4 separate regions of the Homo sapiens genome follow, and regions 1, 2 and 3 are each linked to region 4. Evidence: promoter capture Hi-C in human tissues and cell types (Jung and others, 2019). All regions are on one chromosome and are shown on one strand. The core of a region is centred on a gene start or on the middle of the fragment in contact, and the rest is flanking DNA. Distances in the headings are between cores, read along the strand shown.

The links. Contacts are between HindIII fragments. The study calls those that stand out against the background at their distance.
Region 1: the fragment with the promoter of KRTAP5-5 here is called in contact with the fragment with the promoter of KRTAP5-1 in region 4 in 1 of the 25 tissues and cell types used here (mesenchymal stem cells).
Region 2: a contact is called between a fragment that was not itself captured here and the fragment with the promoter of KRTAP5-1 in region 4, in 1 of the 25 tissues and cell types used here (mesenchymal stem cells).
Region 3: a fragment that was not itself captured here is called in contact with the fragment with the promoter of KRTAP5-1 in region 4 in 1 of the 25 tissues and cell types used here (mesenchymal stem cells).

What each region holds. Positions count from the first base shown.
Region 1 is chr11:1,624,894-1,631,355 of GRCh38, forward strand. It overlaps KRTAP5-5 (keratin associated protein 5-5), which reads left to right and starts at 4,882. Exons shown (of 1, transcript NM_001001480.3): 1 at 4,882-6,037. The coding sequence starts at 4,948. The coding sequence ends at 5,661. The HindIII fragment of the contact is 7,029 bases long and covers 11-6,462 here.
Region 2 is chr11:1,547,129-1,553,832 of GRCh38, forward strand. No RefSeq gene overlaps it. Among named protein-coding and RNA genes, the nearest start is that of DUSP8, 22 kb to the right of the region's middle. The HindIII fragment of the contact is 8,025 bases long and covers 1-6,704 here.
Region 3 is chr11:1,528,143-1,534,501 of GRCh38, forward strand. No RefSeq gene overlaps it. Among named protein-coding and RNA genes, the nearest start is that of DUSP8, 41 kb to the right of the region's middle. RefSeq lists an enhancer at 3,878-4,378. The HindIII fragment of the contact is 3,238 bases long and covers 3,121-6,358 here.
Region 4 is chr11:1,581,602-1,587,756 of GRCh38, forward strand. KRTAP5-1 (keratin associated protein 5-1) reads right to left here and starts at 3,682. Exons shown (of 1, transcript NM_001005922.1): 1 at 2,741-3,682. The coding sequence starts at 3,648. The coding sequence ends at 2,812. The region is part of intron 1 of KRTAP5-AS1 (KRTAP5-1/KRTAP5-2 antisense RNA 1); the gene reads left to right. The HindIII fragment of the contact is 15,838 bases long and covers 1-6,155 here.

The sequences.
Region 1 (6,462 bases), core at 3,632-6,131, 44 kb after region 4:
TCGGTGTAAGCAGTGGAGGCTTTAACAAATGGAGCAGAAAGCAGATTCAAAGGCCAGAAAAATGCACCATGACCCGCAGGAAGATCTGAAAGTTTAGCCCCAAAGAGCGTAACATGCTCCAGGAAAGAATGAAGGCGGAATGCTGAGTACTGAGCCCGTGGTGGTTTGGTGACAGAACTCCAAAGGCTGAATCAACATTGCCGCTTCTGCAAATCCCTGGCCAGTCTGCCGTGGCTGTCAGGGCTGAGGAGGGTGCTCATAGCTAGCTGCTCCTAGATGCTCCTCGGAGAGGTCATAAACCCAAAGATAGGGGATCAATTTCTCCAAAAAGGACAAAACCAAAACATGACCCAAGAACATGGTGACAAAACGTCCTTCAAATAGAAGAAAACAGGAACACAGCCTCCAAAATGGCAGAAATCTAAGACGACAGCACCTGGGACTCGGGAAAATCATATGGACCCTACACAATTGGGATTCATTCCAATTAAAGGAGTGAGGCAGGGATAGGCAAGGCAGGAAGGGCTGAGGACAGTAGAATGAAGACCAACATTGAGTAATTAACTACACGGGCGATGGTGAGTTACGGAGCCCACCTGCATTCCCAGAGAGAAAAATTAACCTGATGACATCTCTGCTCTCCACCTCCTCAGGCCCCTTCCACAACCTCCAGGTGGGTGGGGGTTAGAGCCATGGAAGGACCCGGTGACCTAGGGCAGGGGTCCCCAACCCTCAGGCCACAGTCCATGGCCTGTTAGGAACCAGGCCACACAGCAGGAGGTGAGTGGAAGGCGTGCAAGCATGACCTCCTGAGCTGCACCTCCCGTCCCTTCAGCCGCCACATTCGATTCTCATAGGAGCCAGAACCCTACTGTCAAGTGCGCACGCGAGGGATCTAGGGTGCGTGCTCCTTACGAGAATCTAACTAATCCCTAATGATCTGAGATGGAAGAGTTTCATCCTGAAACCAGCCCCCACCCACCCCCTGGGTCCGTGGAAAAATTTTCCTCTACAAAACCGGTTCCTCGTGCCAAAAGAAGGTGGTGGTTGCTGCCCTCGGGTGCTCTTGAAAATGGCCCTGCATTGTGGCTGGGCTGCTGTCTCCCTGGTGGGCGGCGATCCTGGCCCCTCACCACACCCGTGGGCCAGCACTGTCTCTACCATCTCGTGGGTGCTACTGTTTCCATACTTTTCTTATTTTTATATTTTCCTTTTCGTAGGCTTTTAGATTCTCTTTTCTTGCTTCTATGGACTTGCTGAAGCTTCTTTCTTCCTTTCTCCTCTTTTTCTGCTGGTTTGCACTGATGTTTTTGTTTCTACTTTTCCCCAGTGGTGACTGTGAACATTTTAACATGCATGTTTAACGCAGTCTGAGATCAGCCACTATCTTCCCCTGGCCCCTCACAGAGGCAGGTGCTCCCCTCAGACTAGCATCTCCTGTGTCAACCTGAGTGCCGTCCAGTGTTTCAGATCCGCCTCCTTCCTGTACCCCCAGCGAGTCATGAGCATCCTACCCTTCATTTCTTCTTTATATACAGCACATTTACCTTCACGAGAACCTCATACTTCCTTCCGGAAATTATCAATTTGAAGAAGACACTTCTGTCCCTCAGCTCATGGTCAGGCACGCCATAGCTAATTGTTACACCTGCTGAGGTGGACGTGTGAATTCTCTCCCTCAAGGCACTTTTGTAATGAGTTACAATGATACATTTCCTGACGGTGAGCCATCTTAACATTCTTGGAACAAACCCTACTTATGACTTGCTATTTTTAAATAATCATATTGGAGTCTTTAATATTTGATTCAGAAATTGTGTGTATTTGTTAATAACGAAATGAAGTTAAAATTTTCTTGTGTTTTACTGGCCTTACCTTTTTCTTTTTTCTTTTTTTTCTTTTTTGAGACAGAGTCAAGCTCTGTCACCCAGGCTGGAGTGCAGTGGTGCAATCATAGCTCCCTGCAGCCTCGACCTCCTGGGCTCAAGAAATCCTCCCACCTCAGCCTCCCGAGTAGCTGGGACTACAGGTGTGCGCTCACAGGCCCAGCTAATTTTTGTACATTTTTGTAGAGATGAGATATCACTATGTTACCCAGACTGGTCTCAAACTCCTGGGCTCAAGTGATCCTCCCACCTCAGCCTCCCAAAATGCTGGGATTGCAGATGTGAGCACCCACACACAGCCCTTTTCATTCTTCTCTGTCAGGCCCCAAATGTTCCTGGGTGGTTCTGGCTGGGGGTCTGAGGCTGCATCCCCTGAAGGCTCGGCTGGTATTGGACCCACTTCCAGGATGGTACATGCCTTGGCTTGTGGGTGGGAGGCCTCAGCTTCTCACCTGCAGGCCTCTCCACAGGGCTGCTATTGGCACAGGATCTGGCTTCACCCAGAAGGAGTAGTACTGAGAGAGAGAGAGAGAGAGAGACAGAGAGACAGAGAGAGACAGAGAGAGAGGCAAGTGTTGTACCACCCTTCATGTCCTAGCCTCCAAGCCCCGTGCCATCATGCTGTCTGCCGTCTTCGTCGCGAGAAACATACTGTGCTGCTGGCCTTCTCCTTGTTGCTTCTTCTGCAAGTCCTTCTGCTGGAGCCTTCTCTGCTGTGCGGCATCAGCCAGCACTTTACTATCCCAGGAAAAACCGCCCCTGAGCCTTCCTCTCATCTGAGTGTGGTTTCAGGTGGTGGAGGAGTGAAAATCTGTGGGGTCAGCCTAGCTCGTTTTAGGAGGAGAAATCCTTCCAGCTCTCTCTTACCTGGTGCCCCCTTTTCTGTTGGGTTCTTGATCTGGAGCCTACAGATACAGGTGGACATCAGATCCTGTCTGGATACTGCACAGTTTTATGTAAAGTTGTGTGTTTTTGTGCATGTTTGTAGACTTGTTTAAAGAGAGGCTCTGTAAAATTCCACAGAGGAATCTACGAACCCACAGTAGTTAAGAATGGGTCTGCAGAGGTAGTTCCTAATGTGGAGCACAGGAGCAAAGTCTACAACATACTCATGTCTGCTTTACGCTGAAAAGGTGAAAAAAATTAAAATTAACTAAAATTAAAATAGCAAATGACTAGACAGGAGCATATGCACCTTATATAATACACACATTTCAGGGGGCATTTGCTCAAAAGCTACATAATCGTGGGGTGCCCCACGGGACAGGGTGAGACCACTGCCATGTTGATTGTTCCATCAGAGCATTGTAAGAGGCCCTCTGATGATCCTCTTTGCCCAATTCAGCGAACCCGAAGGTCATCAATGGACCACGAAGAACAAAGGCCCATGAAAGGGAAGATGTTCCCAAAGTACAAAAGGAAAAGTCCTCTTGTACCCGAGGGAAGGAGCTGATCCAAGGGTGTCACTAGGAGTCAGCGCGGGTGTTGATACATTACTTCAGGGGCTGGAGGCAAATATACGAGGTACTGGAAGCAAATGTATCAAGCACTGGGACAAATGTATCAGGCGCTGGATGCAAATGTATCAGGCACTGGATGCGAATGTATCAGGCGCTGGATGCGAATGTATCAGGCGCTGGATGCGAATGTATCAGGCGCTGGATGCGAACGTATCAGGCGCTGGATGCGAATGTATCAGGCGCTGGATGCGAATGTATCAGGAAGCAAATGTATCTGTTGCCTCTGTTCCAGAGCTGGAGGATGCCGCCTCTGGTGGGGACAGCCAACACAAGGCGGCTCTCTCCTAATGGGTTTTCTGTTCCTCCCTGAGATACAGTCCCCTGCCCCAGAACAGAGTGGGGCTCCAGCATACACGGCAAGAGTCACCGAGTGCCAGCTGGTGTTTACACCGTGGCCTGAGGCCTGTTGACTGGGCTCGGGGCACTCACAGGTATTGTGGTCACGGGGGCAAATGGCCATCCGGTTCCCTGCTCTCCACCGGCTTTCTTTAGCATCCAGTGGGCCTGCACCCGAATGTAGTTGCTGCTTCCCAGGCTGAGCCCGGGACCCGGAGCAGGCGGGCACCCAGACAGGGCATCCTCTTCCGCTCACTGGCCCTGAAAGGGCCTCTGCCATCAGCCTGTGCCGCTGTCCGGGAGCCCCTGGGCCGGCCACGCAGTGGGGGAACCCGCTTCACAGCGACACCGTGCGGCGGCAGGAGGAACCGCTGCAGGAGACAATGCGATCTGGGTCCTGACCCAGCGCAGAGGCAGTGTCTGCCCCTTGCAATGCTTGGATTTCCTTCCTCAAAAGGCAGCCTTCGATGATCTGAAATTCAAGTTCCAGCAGGCATCCTGTACTGTATCTGTCAGCCCTGCCACCCGAGTGGTCTGAAAGCCCTGGAAGAGACCGCGGTTATCACAGGAGAACACTTTCCATGGGGAGCACGCAGCAAGCTCCAGAATAAGCGCTTAAAATCCCCGTCTCAGTCAACACTGCAAACCTTCCAACAAAGTCTTACACCGAAAACGACCCTGCTGAGCTGAGGGCTGAAGCCCCAGGTCCTGGGACCCTTGGAAACAGCCCGCGGGCCAGGAGCTGCTGTGGACCGTGAAGGTGTAGGGCCTAGGCACGTCCCAAGCAAGACACGATGCTCCCGCAGAGGAATCTTCCCGGGAGCAAGCCAGGAGTCCTGGGCTCAAAATCACCCTCGGCAAGACCAAGGCCTCTGAGCGAGCCACTGCCTGCCCATCGCTTCCTTCTTGTCACATGGAAAGGGAAACTCACCGCGGGGCCAGTGTTTACTGAGGGGCCGCTTCCATCACAGACCTGACAGCACATTCGAGAAAAGTGCGAGGAAAACAGGAGTTATTTATAAAAATGTAAAGCAGAAGAGAATACTGGGACCAGTGGCACAAGCAGGAACCAGGAAGTGACAGTGTGCCCAGCCTCTCACCTGACCCTGGACAGGGATATAAAGAGCCCGGGCTCAGGGGGCTCCACACCTGCACCTCCCTCTCACCTGCTCCTCTACCTGCTCCACCCTCAATCCACCAGAACCATGGGCTGCTGTGGCTGCTCCGGAGGCTGTGGCTCCGGCTGTGGAGGCCGTGGCTCCGGCTGTGGGGGCTGTGGCTCCGGCTGTGGAGGCTGTGGCTCTGGCTGTGGGGGCTGTGGCTCCGGCTGTGGAGGCTGTGGGGGCTGTGGCTCCGGCTGTGCGGGCTGTGGGGGATGTGGCTCCGGCTGCTGTGTGCCTGTCTGCTGCTGCAAGCCCATGTGCTGCTGTGTGCCAGCTTGTTCCTGCTCCAGCTGTGGCAAAGGGGGCTGTGGCTCTTGCGGGGGCTCCAAGAGAGGCTGTGTCTCCTGTGGGGTGTCCAAGGGGGCCTGTGGCTCCTGTGGGGGGTCCAAGGGGGGCTGTGGCTCCTGTGGGGGGTCCAAGGGGGGCTGTGGCTCCTGTGGGGGGTCCAAGGGGGGCTGTGGCTCCTGTGGGGGGTCCAAGGGGGGCTGTGGTTCTTATGGCTGCTCCCAGTCCAGCTGCTGCAAGCCCTGCTGCTGCTCCTCAGGCTGTGGGTCATCCTGCTGCCAGTCCAGCTGCTGTAAGCCTTACTGCTGCCAGTCCAGCTGCTGTAAGCCCTACTGCTGCCAGTCCAGCTGCTGTAAGCCCTGTAGCTGCTTCTCAGGCTGTGGATCATCCTGCTGCCAATCCAGCTGCTACAAGCCCTGCTGCTGCCAGTCCAGCTGCTGTGTCCCCGTGTGCTGCCAGTGTAAGATCTGAGGCTCTGACTGCAGACTGCAGGTGGCCTGACTGGTGAAGGGCCCGGCTGCCCAGCTTCCTTGCCCTGGGTTCTCTGGTGCTCCACTGTCTCCACTGTGTCCTCACTGGCTTCATCCACTCCACACCAGTGCTCCCGAAACTGACTGAGGACCCCTTCTGGCTCATTGCCTACTACTTCTCCTGAACTTCCTCTCCCTGCTCCTCACTCATTTAAGATCCAAAGCGGCCCACTGAGGCCCCAGAGGCAGATCAGACCCCTTAGACCCTGACAGCTGCTCCTTCTTTCAGGAGTGTGATCGACCCTCAATCTCTCTGGCTGTCTGTATATCAAGACTGAATCCTGACCCTCTAAATAAACAAAGTCTCTAAGCACAAAGCTCACTGTCTTGTGGTTCTCTCCTTCCCACCTCTCTCTCATTCCCAGAAGCACCATCTTCTTGCCTCCACCCCTGGGCCTGTTCCCATTTCTCTCCCCTCAGCATCTTTCATGTCATGGTCCATGTCTTCATGCACAGAACTAACGTCTATAGCTTTCTGCTCTGGGCCCCTTGTTGTGTTGGGCTCCAGAGATGACAGAGCAGAGTAAATCCAAGCTCACAGTCTGGTATGTGGGGAGAGGTGGGGAGAGGGAAAGGTGGTGAGGGCGGTGGTGTCAGCCGTGGAGGCACTGCCGTCCCGTGGGAGGGAGGGAAGCTCAGGGCCAGGCCACTTCAGCGGAAGGATGAGGAAGGGTCTGTATGCTGAGCTGTGCGGTACATCAGGCCCTAAGAAGCCCCTAGTGCATGCAGGAGCCAGACGTGG
Region 2 (6,704 bases), core at 1,552-4,051, 35 kb before region 4:
GTCTGGGAGTGGGCGCGGCCCCGCCGGGCGTGAGGTCATCGCGAGCAGCTGGCGCACCCCCCGCGCCTGCCTCCCGGTCCTCGGAGCCCCCGGCTGCGCCCCGCGGCGCGCGCAGGTTGGGCAGGTTCTGGGCTCTGGGCGGCGGGGCGTGGAGGAGCCCTGGGGCGGGATTGTGACTGGGCGCTTCCTGCGGGGTTGGCGGCCCGGACGCCGGTGCCACCCGAGCCACCCAGCGATGCTCTGGGCCCCCTACGTCGGGGCTGACCTCACCGCCCATCCTGGCGGACCCCGCCCGCTCTAATGGGACCGCGCCCACCCTACACTGGCCTGCAGCCGCCGTCCTCCCGGCTGCGGGTTCCTTGCCCTCAGGGAGGGCGGGGCCGCCACCAGCTGCCCGGAGAGGTGGGGGGACCCAAACCTCCCCTCGCCCACACCAACCCCGTCCTACTGCCCTCAATCCTGCCCCTCCTGGAGTTTCTTGTTACGGTCCACACAGGCGAAGGGCCCCATCGGCCGCGCCTTGCCAGCCCTAATGCCCTCCGAGAGGCGGAGGCCCCACAGTAGGAACCCGGACTGAAGTCACTCCCTGGCGCTGCTAGGGGCTCAGGGTGGAGGGCTCAAGGGTGTCCGGGAAGGGCCTTCGCCCTTCAGCCTCAAAGCCCCCCCAGTCCTCTGGTTTTCTGTTCCTCTTTTGGGCCCCCAGCTTGTGAGCGCCCGCTGGGTAGGTGGGCAAGAGGTGACCGAGCAGAACCAGGCACCGGGACCGTCCGGTTTGGGTCTGGCTTCCACACTGGCTGCAGTGCGCCCTGCCCCAGGCCGGCAAAGTCTCTGAGCCCCATTCCTGCCGCTGGCCGAAGGATTGGGTTGGGCGAGGAAGATATGGAAACTGCCCCACAAGCCCCCCTCCCACCCCCAGGACGCCGCCCCCACCGGCTAGGCTCTGGGCAGGCCTAGTGTCCACTGATCTCGCCAATCGGCCCTGTGTTCCAGGGCTGTCGGGGGTCTCCTGGGCCAGGGGCTTGACGGAGGGAGTGGGGTGGGGAGGGTGGAGAGGCACCGGAATCTCTTTCTGCTTGGGAGTGGGGGCGGGCGGATATCAGGAGGGGCCACTGCCCCGCAGATGACCCAGAGCCGAAGACCGCGGGCTGTGGCCAGCGCAGGCTCCACGCGCCCCGACCCTCGCGGCAGGGAGGCCCCGCCCACTGTTGGGCAGGTTCTTGACTTCACCCTGCTTCCCCAAACGTTTCCGGGTGCAAACGCCCCTCTGGGCTGGGGTGGGATGAGGGAGGGGAGCCCTAGAATGGAGTTTTGTTTTCCTCCTCTGGCATCAGGTGCTCAAGCCCAAGCTCCTCCCTCCACCCGCCTCTGGCCCTTCCCTGGCTTCTATTTCCAGCTCTCCTTGGCTATTTATAGCTGCGACCGGCCGGCAATTGCGTCAGTCAGGGGCAGGCTTCGGCCGGCGATGCCAACGGTGCCACCAGTCCCCCTACATTCCCCTACCCTTCCTGGGTAGTCACCTGCCCTGCGCTGTCCTGGTCGGAGGCCCCAGGTGTGTGGGGGGCGGGAGTGCGTTCTGCAGGTGCGCTCAGCCATGAGGGCGCATGTGCTGGGGCAGAGTGGGAGGGCACTGGACTTGGTGGGGGGGGGGGGCAGCAGAATTCCTGGCGGGGAAGGGGTAAGCGGCGTCTTCCCCTTTCCTTCCCAGAGCTTCCTCCTGGGAGCTGCCTGGGGACAGGCCACTGTTCCTTGGTTTCATGGGTGGTGTCTGCAAAGACTGGGAGAGATGCCCCTGGACCTAGCACCCGTCCCCCTCCCCCCGCCCACCTTCCAGAATGAAGGCCCTTCACTGAGTTCCTCTCCTCTCACCCCACTACTGAGGCCTCCCTCTCCCCAGCATTCTCACTCAACTCCAGTTCAGCTCCCATACCCCTTCCCTCCCTGAGGCCACCCCCAACCCAGCCCCTCTGGAGGGGGACATTGAAGGGTTCTGAAGCAAGACAAGTCTACCTGCTCAGTTTGGAAGGACTGAAGGGCATCCACCCAGGCACTTGCCTAGTGTTTGGCAAAGGCCTGCCCTGGCATCGCCCTGCTTGGGGGTGGGAGGCACACGCATGTTCCCCTCGCCCCACCAGGATCCCCTCTGAGCTCTGGTCCCCACAGTCAGGGACCACTCGCTTCACAAACAAGCCATCATCACGCCTTCAGGGCCTAGTGTCTTCCACAGAGGCTCCTACCCCAGGAGACCCATTCCCAGGGGCAGGAGTGGGGCCTGGGACTGTGGGCTGCCTTACAGGTCTAGACCCTCACCCCTGGGCCAGAAGGCTGTGCTTTCTCTGGAGGGACTGTGCCGCCGAGCCCCAGCTGCCTGCAGGGATAATTGAGTTTCCCCACGTGCTCCCACCATGGACACAAGGCATTTGTTGTGAAGCTCTGCTGAGAATCAGCCCCTCCTCTCCCACCCTCTGTCCAGGGCCCGCCCTGCCCTGTGCCCTGCGCCCTTCCGGGGAGGTTGGGGCACCCTCTGCTGGTGTCCATTGTATAGGCCCCTCAAAGACTCCATGGCTTCCCCTTAACAGCAAGTCCTCCCTTCATCTTGCCCACAAAGAACCACTCTTCTTAGACACTCCCCCAACCCACCTGCCATTCAGAGCCCCATCGAGATGCACCCTCTTCCCGTCGGGCCTTGCCTTGGCCAGAGGCCTTCAGCTTCTGCCTGGCTCCCCGCAGGGCGCTCCTACCTCTGCCTTTTCTCCCATGCTGTGGACCTTTGCAATGTCCTCCTGCCCCACCTGCCCCCAGCCCCTCCAAACACAACCTGGCCTTCAGAGGCCAAAACTCTCCTCCTGAAAGGCTTCCTGAGAACTGGCCCTCTGCCCTTTCTCCTGCTCAGTCTCTTCAGTTCTGAGCTCCGGAAGGGCCTTGGTAAGTCCATCCACAGGAGTACAGTGGCAGCTGGCAGGGGTGCCACTGAGACCAGCCTCCAGCTTACTTCCAGGGATGGCTCGGCAGGCAGAGGAATGGTGCCTGAGAGACCAGGAACCAAGCCCAGCCCCAACTTGGCCCCTGACCCTCTAAGGGACATTGACCAAGCCTGTTCCTCTCCCTGGGCCTTGGAGAGGGTCTCTCCTGTGATGTCCCACTCCAAGACAGTTAGTATGTGGCTTATTCATTGGACATTCACTGGGTACCTTCTGTATGCAAAGACCAGGTACCCATCTGCAGTCCAATGGAGAATGGAGGTAAGCACAAGCTGGCTTTAATGTAAGACTAACAGAAGTGCAACTAACGCAATGTAACATTATTACCCACCCACCTTCGCTCCCTCCCTCCCTCTCATTTACCCATTCTTCCACCTCCTATCCACCCCATCACTTCTCCACCCGTCCATCCATCTGTCCACCTTCCTTTCCTTCTACTCCCTAGCCACACATCTACTTGCCTATTTATGAATACCCATTTATGTATTCATCCATCCATCCATCCTATTCATTCCTCCACCCATTCATCCATGTACCCACCCACCCCACTCATCCCTCTACCCATTCATCCATCTGCCCATCCATCCATCCACCCACCCACCCCACTCATCCCTCTACCCATTCATCCATTTGCTCATCCATCCATCCATCCACCCACCCATCCACCCCACTCATCCCTCTACCCATTCATCCATCTGCCCACGTATCCATCCATCCACCCACCCACCCCACTCATCCCTCTACCCATTCATCCATCTGCCCATCCATCCATCCATCCATCCACCCACCCCACTCATCCCTCTACCCATTCATCCATCTGCCCATCCATCCATCCACCCACCCACCCCACTCATCCCTCTACCCATTCATCCATTTGCTCATCCATCCATCCATCCACCCACCCATCCACCCCACTCATCCCTCTACCCATTCATCCATCTGCCCATCCATCCATCCATCCACCCACCCACCCCACTCATCCCTCTACCCATTCATCCATCTGCCCATCCATCCATCCATCCATCCACCCACCCATCCACCCCACTCATCCATCTACCCATTCATCCATCTGCCCATCCATCCATCCATCCACCCACCCATCCACCCCACTCATCCCTCTACCCATTCATCCATCTGCCCATCCATCCATCCATCCATCCACCCACCCCATTCATCCCTCTACCCATTCATCCATCTGCCCATCCATCCATCCACCCACCCGCCCACCCCACTCATCCCTCTACCCATTCATTCATCTGCCCATCCATCCATCCATCCACCCACCCACCCCACTCATCCCTCTACCCATTCGTCCATCTGCCCATCCATCCATCCATCCACCCACCCATCCACCCCACTCATCCCTCTACCCATTCATCATCTGCCTATCCATCCATCCAACCACCCACCCCACTCATCCCTCTACCCATTCATCCATTTGCTCATCCATCCATCCACCCACCCACCCCACTCATCCCTCTACCCATTCATCCATCTGCCCATCCATCCATCCACCCACCCACCCCACTCATCCCTCTACCCATTCATCCATCTGCCCATCCATCCATCCATCCACCCACCCATCCACCCCACTCATCCCTCTACCCATTCATCCATCTGCCCATCCATCCATCCATCCACCCACCCCATTCATCCCTCTACCCATTCATCCATCTGCCCATCCATCCATCCGTCCACCCACCTGCCCACCCCACTCATCCCTCTACCCATTCATTCATCTGCCCATCCATCCATCCATCCACCCACCCACCCCACTCATCCCTCTACCCATTCATCCATCTGCCCATCCATCCATCCACCCGCCCACCCCACTCATCCCTCTACCCATTCATCCATTTGCCCATCCATCCATCCATCCATCCATCCACCCCACTCATCCCTCTCCACCCATTCATCCATCTGCCCCTCTATCCATCCATCCACCCATCCCATTTATCCCTCCACCTATTGATCCATCCACCCATCCACCCCACTCATCCCTCTACCCATTCATCCATCTGCCCACCCATCCACCCATTCATTGATCCATCCATCCATCCATCTACCCACCCACCCACCCCACGCATCCCTCTACCCATTCATCCATCTGCCCTTCTACCCACCCATCCATGCACCCATCCATCCATCCACCATTCATCCATCTGCCCATCCATAAATTCACCTATCCATCCATCCATGTCTCCCTCCCTCATCCACCCATCTACCCACCCATCCAAGACCCATCCAGCAACTAAAGCTCTTGTCCTGGGGGGAGACACAGCTGTAGGCAGGGCAACAAGCCTTTAGGGGACTCTACGTAGCAGTTGGAGGCCAGTCCACCAGTGTTCAACTCTTGCTTCACCGCCTACTTTGGGCAGCTCTTGGACCACTAGGAGCCTGATTGAGTTGGTAAATGAGACCCCCTCCTTCCATCTGGAGTCTTACACTGCCCCCAGGGTCCTGAGACCTATGTGCCCCAGATGGGCATCCTAGGAGAGGCCGTCACCCACCTGCTGGAGCTGCAGGTGCTCCTGCGCACAGGGGGTAAGGGAGCACCTCGGTGCTGCTTGAGTCAGCCATCAGCTCTTTCCAGGCCTCAGTTTTATTGACTGCTGGGGGCTGCCTGAGTTATAAATAGATGTTCTTGAGCCAAAAATAGCCTTGCGGGAGCATCAGACTATGTTTCTAGCTTTCCTCCTTTTTGAGGACTCTTAAAGATGCAGGATTCAAGGACCCTACCTCCTCCTGCAGCCCCCGAGGAGGGACTGGCCCCCTCCTCTTCCCCTCTCTTGCTTCCTCTTCCTCCTGTCTCATGAGCACTCACACACACGGTCTGGACAGCATCACTGGTTGGGAGGGGTCCCTGGGAGAGGTATACTAAACCTGGAAGAAGCTGCATGAACCAGGTCTGTGTGGTAAGGACAGATCTGGTATCCTCCGCCACAGTGTAGACAAGCCTCAGCCCGGGCTGCACGCACACTGTGAATCTTTGCAGCCTGTGGCACCTGCAGCAGCCAGGTCTGCCCTCGGTGGGGGGTGGGGGGGGGGGAGGCGGGGCTCTGCAGGCCGGGCTGGGGCTGCCTCCAGGGAGAGGACCCTGGAGGCTGGGGACAAGCCTGGGGGAGACAAACCAGTACTTTCTACCACATACCCTGGTGTGCTTTTAATCCTTGTATGACATGCACATTACTTAAGATTTGAAAAGCTGGTTGGAGGCCAGGCACGGTGGCTCACACCTGTAATCCCAGCACTTTGGGAGGCCAAAGCAAGCGGATCACTTGAGGTCAGTGAGATTGAGACCAGCCTGGCCAACATGGTGCAACCCCATCTCTACTAAAAATACAAAAATTAGCCAAGTGTGATGGCACGTGCCTGTAATCCCAGCTACTTGGGAATCTGAGGCATGAGAATTGTTTGAACCGGGGAGGCGGAGGTTGCAGTGAGCGGAGATCGCACCATTGCACTCCAGCCTAGATGACAGAACGAAACTCCATTTCAAAAAAAAAAAAAAAAAAAGTCTGGTTGGAGACACTATATATAGCTAGACCCCTATTTCTGCTGGTACGTATATGCACCCACACACATGCACACAGCACACAGCACACATGGAGGGGCTGGGAGGGAAGCATCCAACTGTTCACATTGGGATTGTGGGAGTGAGGGGACTGGTGGGTAACACTGAGGTTTTATATCGTTTTAAGTTATTTAAGCTTTTACTAGCCTGTA
Region 3 (6,359 bases), core at 3,490-5,989, 52 kb before region 4:
AAGTAGGCAAAGACCAAGCAGATAATGGCATGGCCCACCGTGCATAGAAGCATCGGCCATATCAGCCCTCCTGCAGTAAACACGGACTAAACCTTGGCACCGCTCTCTGCCTGTCAACGTGGCAAAGATCTTCTTCAGAAAAGACCAACACAAGTGGCGGGCACCGACCTGTGGAAACACCAGCACTGGCACCACGCTCCCTTCCCAGGGACTTGGGAAGCATCACACAACCTGGGAACGTCCCCATTCCCACCGGCAGGGGAGCAGTGGACAACTCCCCTGGGTAGCAAGAGTCCCACTACAGAGTGAGGCTGGTTTTAATGTTAAGTACAGACTATCGCTGGGTGGTAGGAGGATTTGCTTTTGATTTTCTGGGTTTTTTTTCCTGTATTTTGTGTCTCTACAATGGACATGTAACACCAAGTCCCAGGTGAGCAGGGATGTGTCCTTCCTCCTAAGGTCCCCCCACCCCCGCAGGACAAGGCACATAGGACACCAGCAGGGTCCAATGGGTGCTGGGAAGATGAATGGCTGCTGAGCACAACAACCTGAGGCCAGGCCCTGCGGAGCCAGAGGCAGGTGCGGGTCAGCCCCACCCTCAGCACCACTCCTGGACTCCACCAGCCAGCGCTACCCACTGTTACAAAAGCATCAACCCAGAGGGAGCTGCGGTGACAGGGAAGGGTCCCGCTGTCCCTGCCCGCGGTTCCCTCTACCCACCCTGTGGGGCCAGAAACCCGGCTCAGTAAACCTCACCTCCCATGCACCTTTCCTTCCCTGTTGGAGACCACTGGGCCCATGCTGAGGTCCCGTTTGCTGAGTCAGAGAATGGCACTTGGGAAGCCCTGTGGGGTCTGTCTTGCTGAGTAGCCAAGGAACCCACCCAGGGCTGGTAAGACCACTGCCAGTGCAGAGAGACGTCTGGTGAAGGGGCGTGCAGTGCCTCCACAGAGAAGCCTGACCAAACACGAGAAAGGACAAAAGCCCACAAACAGCGGCTTCTGAAAACACCGCGGACACAGCCACACAGGAGCAGCTTATCTGCTCGTAGCCTGTTTTATACGATTTCTGCCATTTTTGCTAGGGCCAGCTTGCTGCTTGGTAAGTCCCAGGCAGTGTGGCTCGGTGGGTTCCGGGGTGTGCTCCCCATACCTCCCAAGACAGTCCAGGCCAGCACTGAGTACCGACACCCCCTCAGACCGGCGACTAGGGCTCAGGAACTCTTCCTAAACGAGGGGCTGCCTGAGCAGCCTCTCCCTAGAGGCGTCTCCCGGGCCACACTGAAGCCCTGTCACAGTGACACTGGACTGAATCAAGCTGAAAGCTTGGGTGAAGCCACAGAACACGTTGGGCCATGGCCTGCACAGGCCGACGCTCACCTGAGCGGGCACCATGAAAGCTCAGCAATGGAAACGCGGGCTGTCCAGTGTTGGCTCTGCCTCGGCAGCCCTCGGTGGTACCCGGAGACAGCACCTGCCCCACCTGCACAACCCCATGGCCCACAGTAGTGCCGGGCTGCACGCCCTGGGAGGAAAACTAAATGGCAGGAAGAGGAAGGTAGCCCGTGAGGAGGGCCGAGCCCTGCCCAGAAGTTAGAGGGAGAGAGAAAAGGCCTTGGTCTCTGAGGTGACCAGCCAGGGCCTCCTGAAGGAGGCAGGAGGACCAGGGCCTCCTAGAGCCCTCCTCCATCCAGAGGCAGGCTGTCCACTCTTAACCACTCCCACCCCCAGATCCAGGTGGCTCCGTGACTCCCTGACCAACAGAAGGTGGCTGAAAGGATGTATTGTCTTCCAGCCATTTTCATGATGGCTCTCCTGGGATGAAGGCCGTCCCGGCAGAGGCAAAGAGAGGCCACGTGGGGAGTCCTAGAGCCCAAAGTGTGGTCTGGGACCATGAGGTTAGCACTGTCTTTACAGTACCACAAAGGTGCCATGTGCCAAAGCCTTGTGGAAGCCACCTGGCCTGTAAAATTACAGCAGGATAAACACAGAACCTGACAGATCCAGCTCTCGAGATTTGCAAAAAGTAAAGCCACTCTATTTATTTGACTCTAGAAGATAATAGGTTTTTTTTTTAATTTTAAAAATATTACTTATGTTAAGATATACTGGGTTTTTAATTATTTCTAAATGAATTAAAGTTGTTTTACATTCTCAATTTTAATTTCTGAAAGATGAATATTCATAGCTCCATCATGTAAACTCAATAAGGACTTTTTTTTTAATTTTAGAGGCAGGGTCTCACTATCACTGAGACTGGAGTGCAGCGGTGCAGAGCTCACCGCAGCCTCAGCCTCTTGGGTTCAAGCAATCCTCCCGCCTCAGCCTCCCAAACAACTGGAACTAGAGGCATACACCATCACATCTGGCTAATTCTTTTTACTTTTTTGTACAGATGGGGTTTCCCTATGTTGCTCAGGCTGGTCCTGAACTCCCAGTCTCAAGTGATCCTCCCACCTTGGCCTCCCAAAGTGCTGGGATTACAGGCAGAAGCCACCATGCCCAGCCTCAACAAGGACTTTAAGGGGTCCTGAGAGCAAGAAGTCCAAAAACTCTGCTCTAGGGTGAGGATATAAAACTCTGCCTGGAGAGATCCATGTGGGGGAAACTGTGGCACCCCAGCAGACACCCATGACAGCAAGGCCCCTGAGGGCTGCCAGCCCAGCCACCACGGGTGGCAGTGCAGGAATAACCTGTGGGGCCAGAGCCCCACCCACCAGCCCACAGATGCGGGAAAGGTGATGAGGCCTCATGTTAGGCCCAGAAGTTTCAGGGTTGGTCACTCAGAAACAGGTGAGCAGGAACCACCCACGGCCAAGCCGGAGGCTGCTGAGCCATGCCCAAGATCAGAGACGCACGCGTCTGGAGCAGCGCCTGACACCTGACCCTGGTGGCTGACCATGCGGCCTGCCTGGCAGTCCTGGGCATGGGATGCACACCCGCACCCTGGCCCACCCAGGGGCAGAAGAGGGGACCACGAAGTTGTGTGTTTTCTGCTGAGAGCATCCACCAGAGCAGAGCTGCTCAGGAGGGCACACGGTGCTGCAGGCTGAGCATGTCACACGCAGAGCCAAGGCCGCCTGCTGGGAAGCCCACCGCTGGCAGGGAGCACAGCCTACGCACAGAATGATGCTCTCATGGTAATACTCCCCACGGAACCCTGCAGGGGTTCATTTTATTCTATATTGTCATCTTTTTTAACATTAAAAACTTGGCTACCGGTGACACTGATTATTTCTTTTAACCCACAATATTCATAAGATGGTTGCCAAATTGTAAGAGCAATCTGACCTGCCACCGAAGCCTCCTGAGCGCAGCCTGAGGTCTCCTTGCTGTTCCTCCTGTCCTCAGACTGTCCCCCATGCCCACATGAGCTCAAGGGCTTTGCTGGCACAGCTCTTCAGCTCAGAGGTTATCCAGGTGATACACAGCCAGGCTCACCAGTTCCTGCTCACAGAGGCTTCCCTCCCTGCCCCTTCGTCTATTCAACTGATACGGGAGCTGAGTCACATGCGCTCCTGCTGGCTAAATTTGACACAGCCCATTCATCAAAATATTATTAAAGACGACAATCGACTGAAAAATATTAAATAAAAACCCACGTGTCCCTGGAACCATGAGGGGGAGGAGGCAAAGGCAGCCCTTCTGAGACAAAGCACCAGGGAGCCAGGGCTCCCTCCATAGGCCTGCATGGCGAGTCCCCTCCCTCACCTCCGCAGGTCTCAGCTCAACAGCACCTTCTCAAAGAGGCCTTCTAGAGCTCCTATTCAAACAGCTCTCCCACGCACCCCCTCCAGGCACCCCATCCCACACCTCCTTACTCCCGTCCCCCTCGGCAGTGGGGAAGCTGCCCAGGGGTGGCTCCTGTTGCCTCTGTTCACGCGTGTCCGGAGCACTCAGAGCAGGCTGCGCGCATGCAGGCCTCCAACAGGAACCTGACTCAACCCAGATTCTCAGGCCCACACTCTTGTATTTCATGACACCACTGCTATGACAAATGGTCCTGTCACATGTGGCACAAAGAACAGGGCACGCAGCAGAAGGGCAGATGTGCCGGGAGGAGGAACCCAGAGCGGCCGCCCATGTAGAGGGCTGGCCGCAGGCTGTGGGGAGAGGCCAGGGCTGTGCAAGACAAACTCAACACAGACAAGCCATGCTCACGCCAGCAGCTTTCAACCCACGCCGGAGCTAATTTTATGCTCCTGGGCTCACGCCCAGGCCTGGCCCCAGGCTCAGGCATCTGGCTCCTCAGGGCCACCTGGCACCATCAGGCCTTTCCATGGGCTGAGGACAAGTCCCAGCAAAGCAGGAGTTAGGAGCTTCCGTAGACGGTGCAGGCCAAACCCCGAGACAACAGCCCCACCTGGGCTCCTGAGATTGCATTGCTGTGGGGATAGGGTCTGCCAGCCCACAGCCTGCACAGCCACCATGTCTGGAGGGGAAAAGGCGCTGCTGAAAGGGTGCTTGGAAGAAAAGTCTCCCAACCCGCAAAGGTCACGGGCAAAAGGGAAACAGCATGGTGCCTCCATGCTTTCCAACCCTCCAGCTTGCCTGCTTTCTGCAGGGAAAAGCTGCATACCTTTGTGGGAGCTCTTTGCCTCCCCGCCCACCACAGCGAAATGCTCGATGACACAGACCAAAATCACCACCACGCAGGGCGAAAAACAGGAGCTGCGGCACTTAACTCACTCACATTAACTAACTCACGTTAGCCCCGGGACATCCGCAAACAACTGCAGGGATGAATGAACAGACATTCCAGCCCAGGGAGCCGTGTGCGCTGGCAAAGGAGACCTTCAAAGAGAAGGGAGCCAGGGACAGCAACGCGACTGTGGCCACAGTCCACAGGCCAAGCAGTGCCACAGATCACACGTGGCCTGGAAGCCCTGCCCACCATCTCCTTCTTTTCTCTTTAAGCTTCCACATTTTGTTTGTTCCAATTGTTTCTACTTCCACTGAACACCAATGGGTGTGCCCCAGCCAGGAGAAATCCTGTGCAGAAAAAAACAAACATGGTGAAGGCAAAGAATGGGAGGCTCTTCTGGCCAAAGACAGACGGGAACAGCACACGCCCTTCCCTTCCAGACAGGTCTAGCACTGGCAGGAGGCTGCACAAGCAGTAATCACCACGGAGAAACAAAGGCCACGGCCCTGTGGCTCCCAACCAGCACTAAGTGGCCCTAACAAAAGTTGCAGTGGGCCCTGGTGTTTCTAACCCAGACCGCTGTGTGGACAAAGGAGAAACACTGGGGTGACAGGGGCATGGCACAGGGGTCCTCCCTCACAGTGGCCTCAACACCCCTCCTCCCGTACCGGATGACCGCAGCAGAGACCACAGCTTCCTCTGGAGAGGGGGTCTGGTGGTACACCAAGCCCCTGCTCGATCTGACAGCAGCACTTGGCAGGCAGACCCCTAGGGTGGCTGGCTTTCCCAGGGCTGGGAAGAGGCCCTCATGAGCCAGGACACAAGGGTGGCACTTGGTGGTGGCAAAGGTGGGGGCTGCGCTGTCTCAGATACACTCGTGATGAGAAACGCAGCCCTGCTGTCTACCAGCCCCCGACCAGGGGAGGCCGTCTGCAGCTCCCCTGGTGGGCTCACCCCCAGCTTCAAGGACACTTGTGCAAGGGTTCCTAGTAGTCAGTCCGAGCAGGAGAAATGGGAGGGGTGTCGCTAGGGGTTTACGGGGAGGCTCATTCTAAAAAGGGCTCCATGTATCCACGACCACTGCTTTTTTTTTTTTTTGAGATGGAGCCTCACTCTGTCACCCAGACTGGAGTGCAGTGGCGCCATCCCCACTTACTGCAACCTCCACGTCCCGGGTTCAAGTGACTTTCCTGCCTCAGCCTTCCGAGCAGCTGGGATTACAGGCACACGCCACCACGACCGGCTAATTTTTTGTATTTTTAGTAGAGACGGGGTTTCACCGTGTTAGCCAGGATGGTCTCAACCTCCTGACCTCGTGATCCGCCCGCCTCGGCCTCCCAAACTGCTGAGACTACAGGCGTGAGCCACTGCACCTGGCCGACCACTGCTCTTTTTAAGGTTAATTTGGAAACGGGAGGGATGATGGAAAACTTTTTTTTAAAGAAGAGGACTCTGAATGCAACACCACCCTAGGCAAACACCTCTGAAACCCAGGCCTAAGAGTGCCCTGGTGGAGCCCTGATGGAAAGAGGCTATTCCTGAAACCAGACCTTCCAGGGCTGCCCGCTGGAGATACAGCAGACCTGGGCCAGCCGGCTTCTCTGCTCACACCTCCGCATGTGCTGCTGCTTCTTCCTGGGCCACCTCCTTCCTCCTTCCCTCTTGGAAAAGCCCTTCATACCTGCTCTAACCGAGCCCCCTGCTTTTGGCCGCAC
Region 4 (6,155 bases), core at 2,432-4,931:
GGGGTCCATATCTCAGGACCGTGGGGATCTGTATCTCAGGACCGTGGGGGTCTGTATCTCGGGACCGTGGGAGTCTATATCTAGGGACTGTGGGAGTCTATATCTAAGGACCGTGGCGTCCATATCTAGGGACCATGGGGGTCCATATGTCGGGACCGTGGGGGGTCTATATCTCGGGACCGTGGGGGTCCATATCTAAGGACCATATGTCGGGACCGTGGGGTTCTGTATCTCAGGACCGTGGGGGTCTGTATCTAGGGACCGTAGGGATCTGTGTCTAGGGACCGTGGGGGTCTATATCTAGGGACTGTGGGAGTCTATATCTAAGGACTGTGGCGGTCTGTATCTCGGGACCGTGGGGGTCTATATCTCAGGACCGTGGGGCTCCATATCTCAGGACCATGGGGGTCTGTATCTAAGGACCGTGGAGGTCTATATCTCGGGACCGTGGGGGTCTCCATCTAAGGACTGTGGGGGTCTAGCTGCTCTCTTCCAACAGTGAGCACGTGGCCTCCCTCTCTAGTGCAGACAGGGAGAGGAGCTGAACATTTCGTCTACCCGCTCAGTTAGGGATTGGGCCACTTCAGTCAATCGTCCCTCTGTGTGGCTTTCCTGGAGTTTTGGTTAAGAGCCTGGCCAGTCCGTGTCTTCTTATCCCTGACAGGCTGTCAGAGAGTCACTTCTTTCCCTGAGGTACAGGCTTAGCTCTTTAGTTGTCTGCTCAGGCAGCTTCAAAATTTGGAAAATGTCTTAAGGGCCAGATTAACCTGTGCCTGGGGCAGGACCCCTTCCTCTAGAAAAGCTCTGTGTACTAAGCTCCACAAGGCTATGCGAGACTTCAGCGCACCTGCGGAGGCCTCAGGCCTCACTTCTTAGCCTCCCCAGAAATTTGCAAATGTCCCAGTTTTCTGCTCCAGCCCCTGTGGTTGCCAAGAGCCCTGCTGGGTATTTCTCCCAGTAGAATTCCTCTTCCCCAGTGGGACCGAGGCTCAGCTCATACCCAGCACTGGTTAATTCCTTAAAGGGAGAGAAGCCGACATTCAGCTCATCTTGGAAGGGCTCTCTCTGAATGTTTTCATCTGGTTCTTGTTGCTTCTACAGTTCTCCAATGTCTTTTTTATAGATACATTTTTCCGGTATTTCAAAATTGTGGGCCGGATGCAGTGGCTGACGCCTATAATCCCAGCACTTTGGGAGGGTGAGGCAGGTAGATCACTTGAGGTCAGGAGTTTGAGACCAGCCTGGCCAACATGGTGAAACCCCATCTCTACTAAAAATACAAACAAAACAAAATTAGCTGGGCATGGTGGCTCATGCCTGTAGTCCCAGAAACTCAGGAGGCTGAGGCAGGAGAATAGCTTGAACCCAGGAGGCAGAGGTTGCAGTGAGTGGAGATCACACTACTGCACTCCAGCCTGGGCAACAGAGTGAGACTCCATCTCAGAAAAAAAAAATTGTGGTAAGATACATACGGTAGGATTTCCTGAAGTTATTTATTTATTTATTTATTTATTTATTTATTTATTTATTTTACCATCTGAGTTCTGTAATTAATGTGGCCTTCTCTGGTTGCTGCAATGGGATTGCTGACCTTCCATATACATCCCCTCTGGAATGTCATATTTGCATTCTTCTGGCTTTTTTTGTTTGTTTTTTGTTTTTTTTGAGACGGAATCTTGCTCTGTAGCCCAGGCTGGAGTGCAGTGGCGCGATCTCGGCTCACTGCAGCCTCCGCCTCCCGGGTTCACACCATTCTCCTGCCTCAGTCTCCTGAGTAGCTGGGACTACAGGCGCCTGCCACCATGCCCGGCTAAATTTTTGTATTTTTAGTAGAGAGGGGGGTTTCACCGTGTTAGCCAGGATGGTCTCAATCTCCTGACCTGGTGATCCGCCCCCCTCGGCCTCCCAAAGTGCTGGGATTACAGGCATGAGCCACCGCACCTGGCCGCCGGCATCTTTAATTCAGACTGCCAGCTTCCAGAACCCTGAGAAATACACTTCTGTTGTACATGCCAGTCCATGGTGTTCTGTTACATCAGCCCAAAGAGAATAAGACCGCGTGGTAACAGGCCATGATGACCCCCTAGTGATTGCTTTTGCCTGATCAAGGCAAGGCACCCCCGCCCTGAGCCAGATGCTGAGAGGGTGTGGTAGAGGCTGCACGGCAAGGGGCTGAGCCAGGTGGCTGCTGGTGCTCCTGCCTCTGACCGCCACCATGTATCCAGGATCCCTGCTGGCCAGGGCGCCCACCTGCCTGCTCCGGTTTGGTTCAGGGCCGGTGTGTGTGTGTGTGTGTGTGTGTGTGTGTGTGTGTGTGGTTCCCAGGGGACCCAGTGTAGCCACAGATGCCCCCCACCTGCCTCGAGAGGGAAATAAACATAAATATACCAAGACAGCTATGGGGTGCTGGGGTGAGCGGTTTATTGGATGTTTAAAGGACAGAGATCTGAACTCCTAGTGACTGCAGAGTGAGCAAGCACCCTGGGCTGTCCTGCAGGGCTGTCCGTGCTGGATGTGGTGCCAGCAGGCAGGGCTTGCGGATAGGCATTTGCTGCAGGTGGCTGGGGCGGTGGGGGGCTGGTCTCCAGATGCCTGGAAGGGAGGCCTTGAAAGTCATTCTTCTTGGATGCATGGGCCCATGGCATTTCTTGGTAGAAGGTCAAAGAGAAGTGTTCATGCTTGGCAAGGCAGGAGGGTGGGAGATAGGGTAGTGGGTGGGGAAGGAGAGTCTGGCTCACTGGGTGCCAGGAAAAGGAGGTAAAGGCTGGGCAGGAATGCCTGGCCATGGTAAGAGTCCTGCAAAGCCAGAAATCAGATCTTGCACTGGCAGCACACGGGGACACAGCAACTGGACTGGGAGCAGCAGGGCTTGCAGCAGCTGGATTGGCAACAGGATGACCCACAGCCTGAGGAACAGCAGCAGGGCTTACAGCAACTGCACTGGGAGCAGGATGACCCGCAGCCTCCCTTAGACCCCGCGCAAGAGCCACAACTGGAACAGGAACAGCAACACACGGGCACACCGCAGCCGGAGCCACAGCCCCCACAGCCGGAGCCACAACCCCCCTTGGATCCCCCACAAGAACCGCAGCCCCCCTTGCAGCCTCCACAGGAGCCACAGCCCCCCTTGGAGCCCCCACAAGAACCACAGGCCCCCTTGGAGCACCCACAGGAGCCACAGCCCCCTTTGCCACAGCTGGAGCAGGAACAAGCTGGCACACAGCAGCACATGGGCTTGCAGCAGCAGACAGGCACACAGCAGCTGGAGCCACATCCCCCACAGCCGGAACCACAGCCACCCTTGGATCCCCCACAAGAGCCACAGCCCCCCTTGGAGCCCCCACAGGAGCCACAACCCCCCTTGGATCCCCCACAAGAGCCACAGCCCCCCTTGCAGCCTCCACAGGAGCCACAGCCCCCCTTGGAGCCCCCAGAAGAGCCACAGCCCCCTTTGCCACAGCTGGAGCAGGAACAGGTTGGCACACGGCAGCACACGGGCTTGCAGCAGCAGACGGGCACACAGCAGCTGGAGCCAGAACCTCCACAGCCAGAGCCACAGCCCCCACAGCCGGAGCCACAGCCCCCACAGCCGGAGCCACAGCCCCCACAGCTGGAGCCACAGCCTCCGGAGCAGCCGCAACAGCCCATGGTTCTGGTGGATTGAGGGTGGAGCAGGTAGAGGAGCAGGTGAGAGGGAGGTGCAGGTGTGGAGCTCCCTGAGCCTGGACCCTTTATATCCCTGCCCAGGGTCATGTGTGAGGCTGGGCACACATTTCCTGGTTCCTGTTTGTGCCATTTTTAGGGCCCCTTTTTCTTGTTTCCTCTAGAAATCCGCCCCTTGGTGTATGGGCTGCTCAGTGGGCTGCTGCTCTCTTGCTGAATCTGTGTCCAGACTTAATGGAGGCCCCCAAGGGTCTAGCCTCTCCCTGTTGACTCCAGAGTCACACTGGATTTACAAAAGCATCTATTTTAGGCTGGGCATGGTGGCTCACACCTGTAATCTCAGCACTTTGGGAGGCCTAGGCAGGTGGATCACTTGAGGTGAGGGGTTGGAGACCAGCCTGGCCAAAATGGTGAAATCTCGTGTCTACTAAAAACACAAAAATTAACTGGGTGTGGTGGCTCACATCTGTAATCCCAGCACTTTGGGAGGCCGAGGCAGGTGGATCATTTGAGGTCAGGAGTTGGAGACCAGCCTGCCCAACATGGCAAAACCCCATCTCTACTAAAAATACAAAAATTAGCCAGGCATGGTGGTGCATGCTTGTAACTCCAGCTACTTGGGAGGCTGAGGCAGGAGAATGGCTTGAACCCAGAGGTGAAGGTTGCAGTGAGCAGAGATCACACCACTGCACTCTAGTGTGGGCAACAGAGCGGGACTCTGTCTCAAAAAAAAAAAAAAAGTGATCTATTTTAGTTGAACGATGGTATAAAGAGTAATATATTTAAAAAATGTAAAAAAAAACCCTACTCAACTTGGGAAAAAATGGCATAAATAAATGAAGTCTCTGTTCCTCCATCTCTCCATATTGTTTCTGTCCCACCCTAATAATTTCTTGAATTTGGAATTCACCACTCTCATGAAGGTCCTCACACTCCTACTTAATATGTATGTTCCTTTAAAAATGTTTTGTGGCCAGGCGCGGTGGCTCACACCTGTAATTTCAGCACTTTGGGAGGCTGAGGTGGGCGGATCATTTGAGTCCAGGAGTTTGAGACCAGCCTCACTAACATGGTGAAACCTCGTCTTTACTAAAAATACAAAAATTAACCAGGTATGGTGGCATGTGCCTGTAATCCCAGCTATTCGGGAGGCTGAGGCAGGAGAATCGCTTGAACCTGGGAGGCAGTGGTTGCAGTGAGCTGAAATCACGCCATTGCACTCCAGCCTGGGCAACAGAGTGAGACTCTATCTCAAAAAAAAAAAAAAAAAAAGAAAAGAAAAAAGAAAAAAAAATTTTACATGCTGAAAACTTTATGTAATGGGTATTACACTGTATTTCTCTTTCTGTAAATTGCTTTTGAAAAAAATAGGTGTTAGGCTAAAGAGATTTTCTCTAGGGATACATATGGTTTTAATTTATTTGTTTTCTCTGATTTCTAAATATACATTGACTTATCCATTTACTTGTTGATGGACCTTTTGTTTCCTTTTTGTTGCTATTTCAAGCAAGCTGCAACTTTCTTGCCCAAAACCCCTCCTGCAGGTGTGGGTGCCTGAAAGTCAGGAGGTTCTTGTTACCAAGCTGTCTTCCCAAGGGATCCCCCCAGCCAGCTGCTGTCCAACCAGCATTGCCAGAGAGCTCCTGTTTCCTGGCACCCCCACCAAAACTTGCAACTGTCAACTTACACCCTTCATGTGGGTGTGTAACACAGTGTTACACACTGTGGTTTAATATTCCCTCTTCCTGGTTACTAGCCATGCTGTGCCTCTTTCCATATGGTCACCTGTCATTAGAGTCTCGTTAATTTCACGTCCTTGGCCCACTTTACAAAATTGAGATAGTTATTATTATTAATTTTTGAGATGGAGAGTCTTGCTCTGTCTCCCAGGCTGTAGCGCAATGGTGCGATTTCGGCTCACTGCAACCTCCGCTTTCCATGCTCGAGCAATTCTCCTGCCTCAGCCTCCCGAGTATCTGGGATTACGGGCATGTGCTACCACACCTGGCTAATTTTTGTATTTTTAGTAGAGTCAAGGTTTCACCATGTTGGTCAGGCTGGTCTTGAACTCCTGACCTCAAGTGATCCACCCACCTCGGCCTCCCAGAGTGCTGGGATTACAGGTGTGAGCCACCACACCTGGCCAAGATCATTATTATTTTTATTGGTGTCTGAAGTTCTTTGAATTTTCTGGATTCTTTTATTTTGAGATGGAGTCTTGCTCTGTTGCCAGGCTGGAGTGCAGTGGCATGGTCTCGGCTCACTGCAGCCTCTGACTCCCTGGTTTGAGCAATTCTCCTGCTTCAGTCTCCCCTGGGATTACAGGCACGTGCCACCACACCCAGCTAATTTTTGTATTTTTAGTAGAGACAGGGTTTCACCGTGTTGGCCAGGCTGGTCTCCTGACCTCATGATCCACCTGCCTCAGCCTCCCAAAGTGCTGGGATTACAGGCGAGAGCCACAGCGCCCAGCCTTTTGTTTCTTCTTCTTC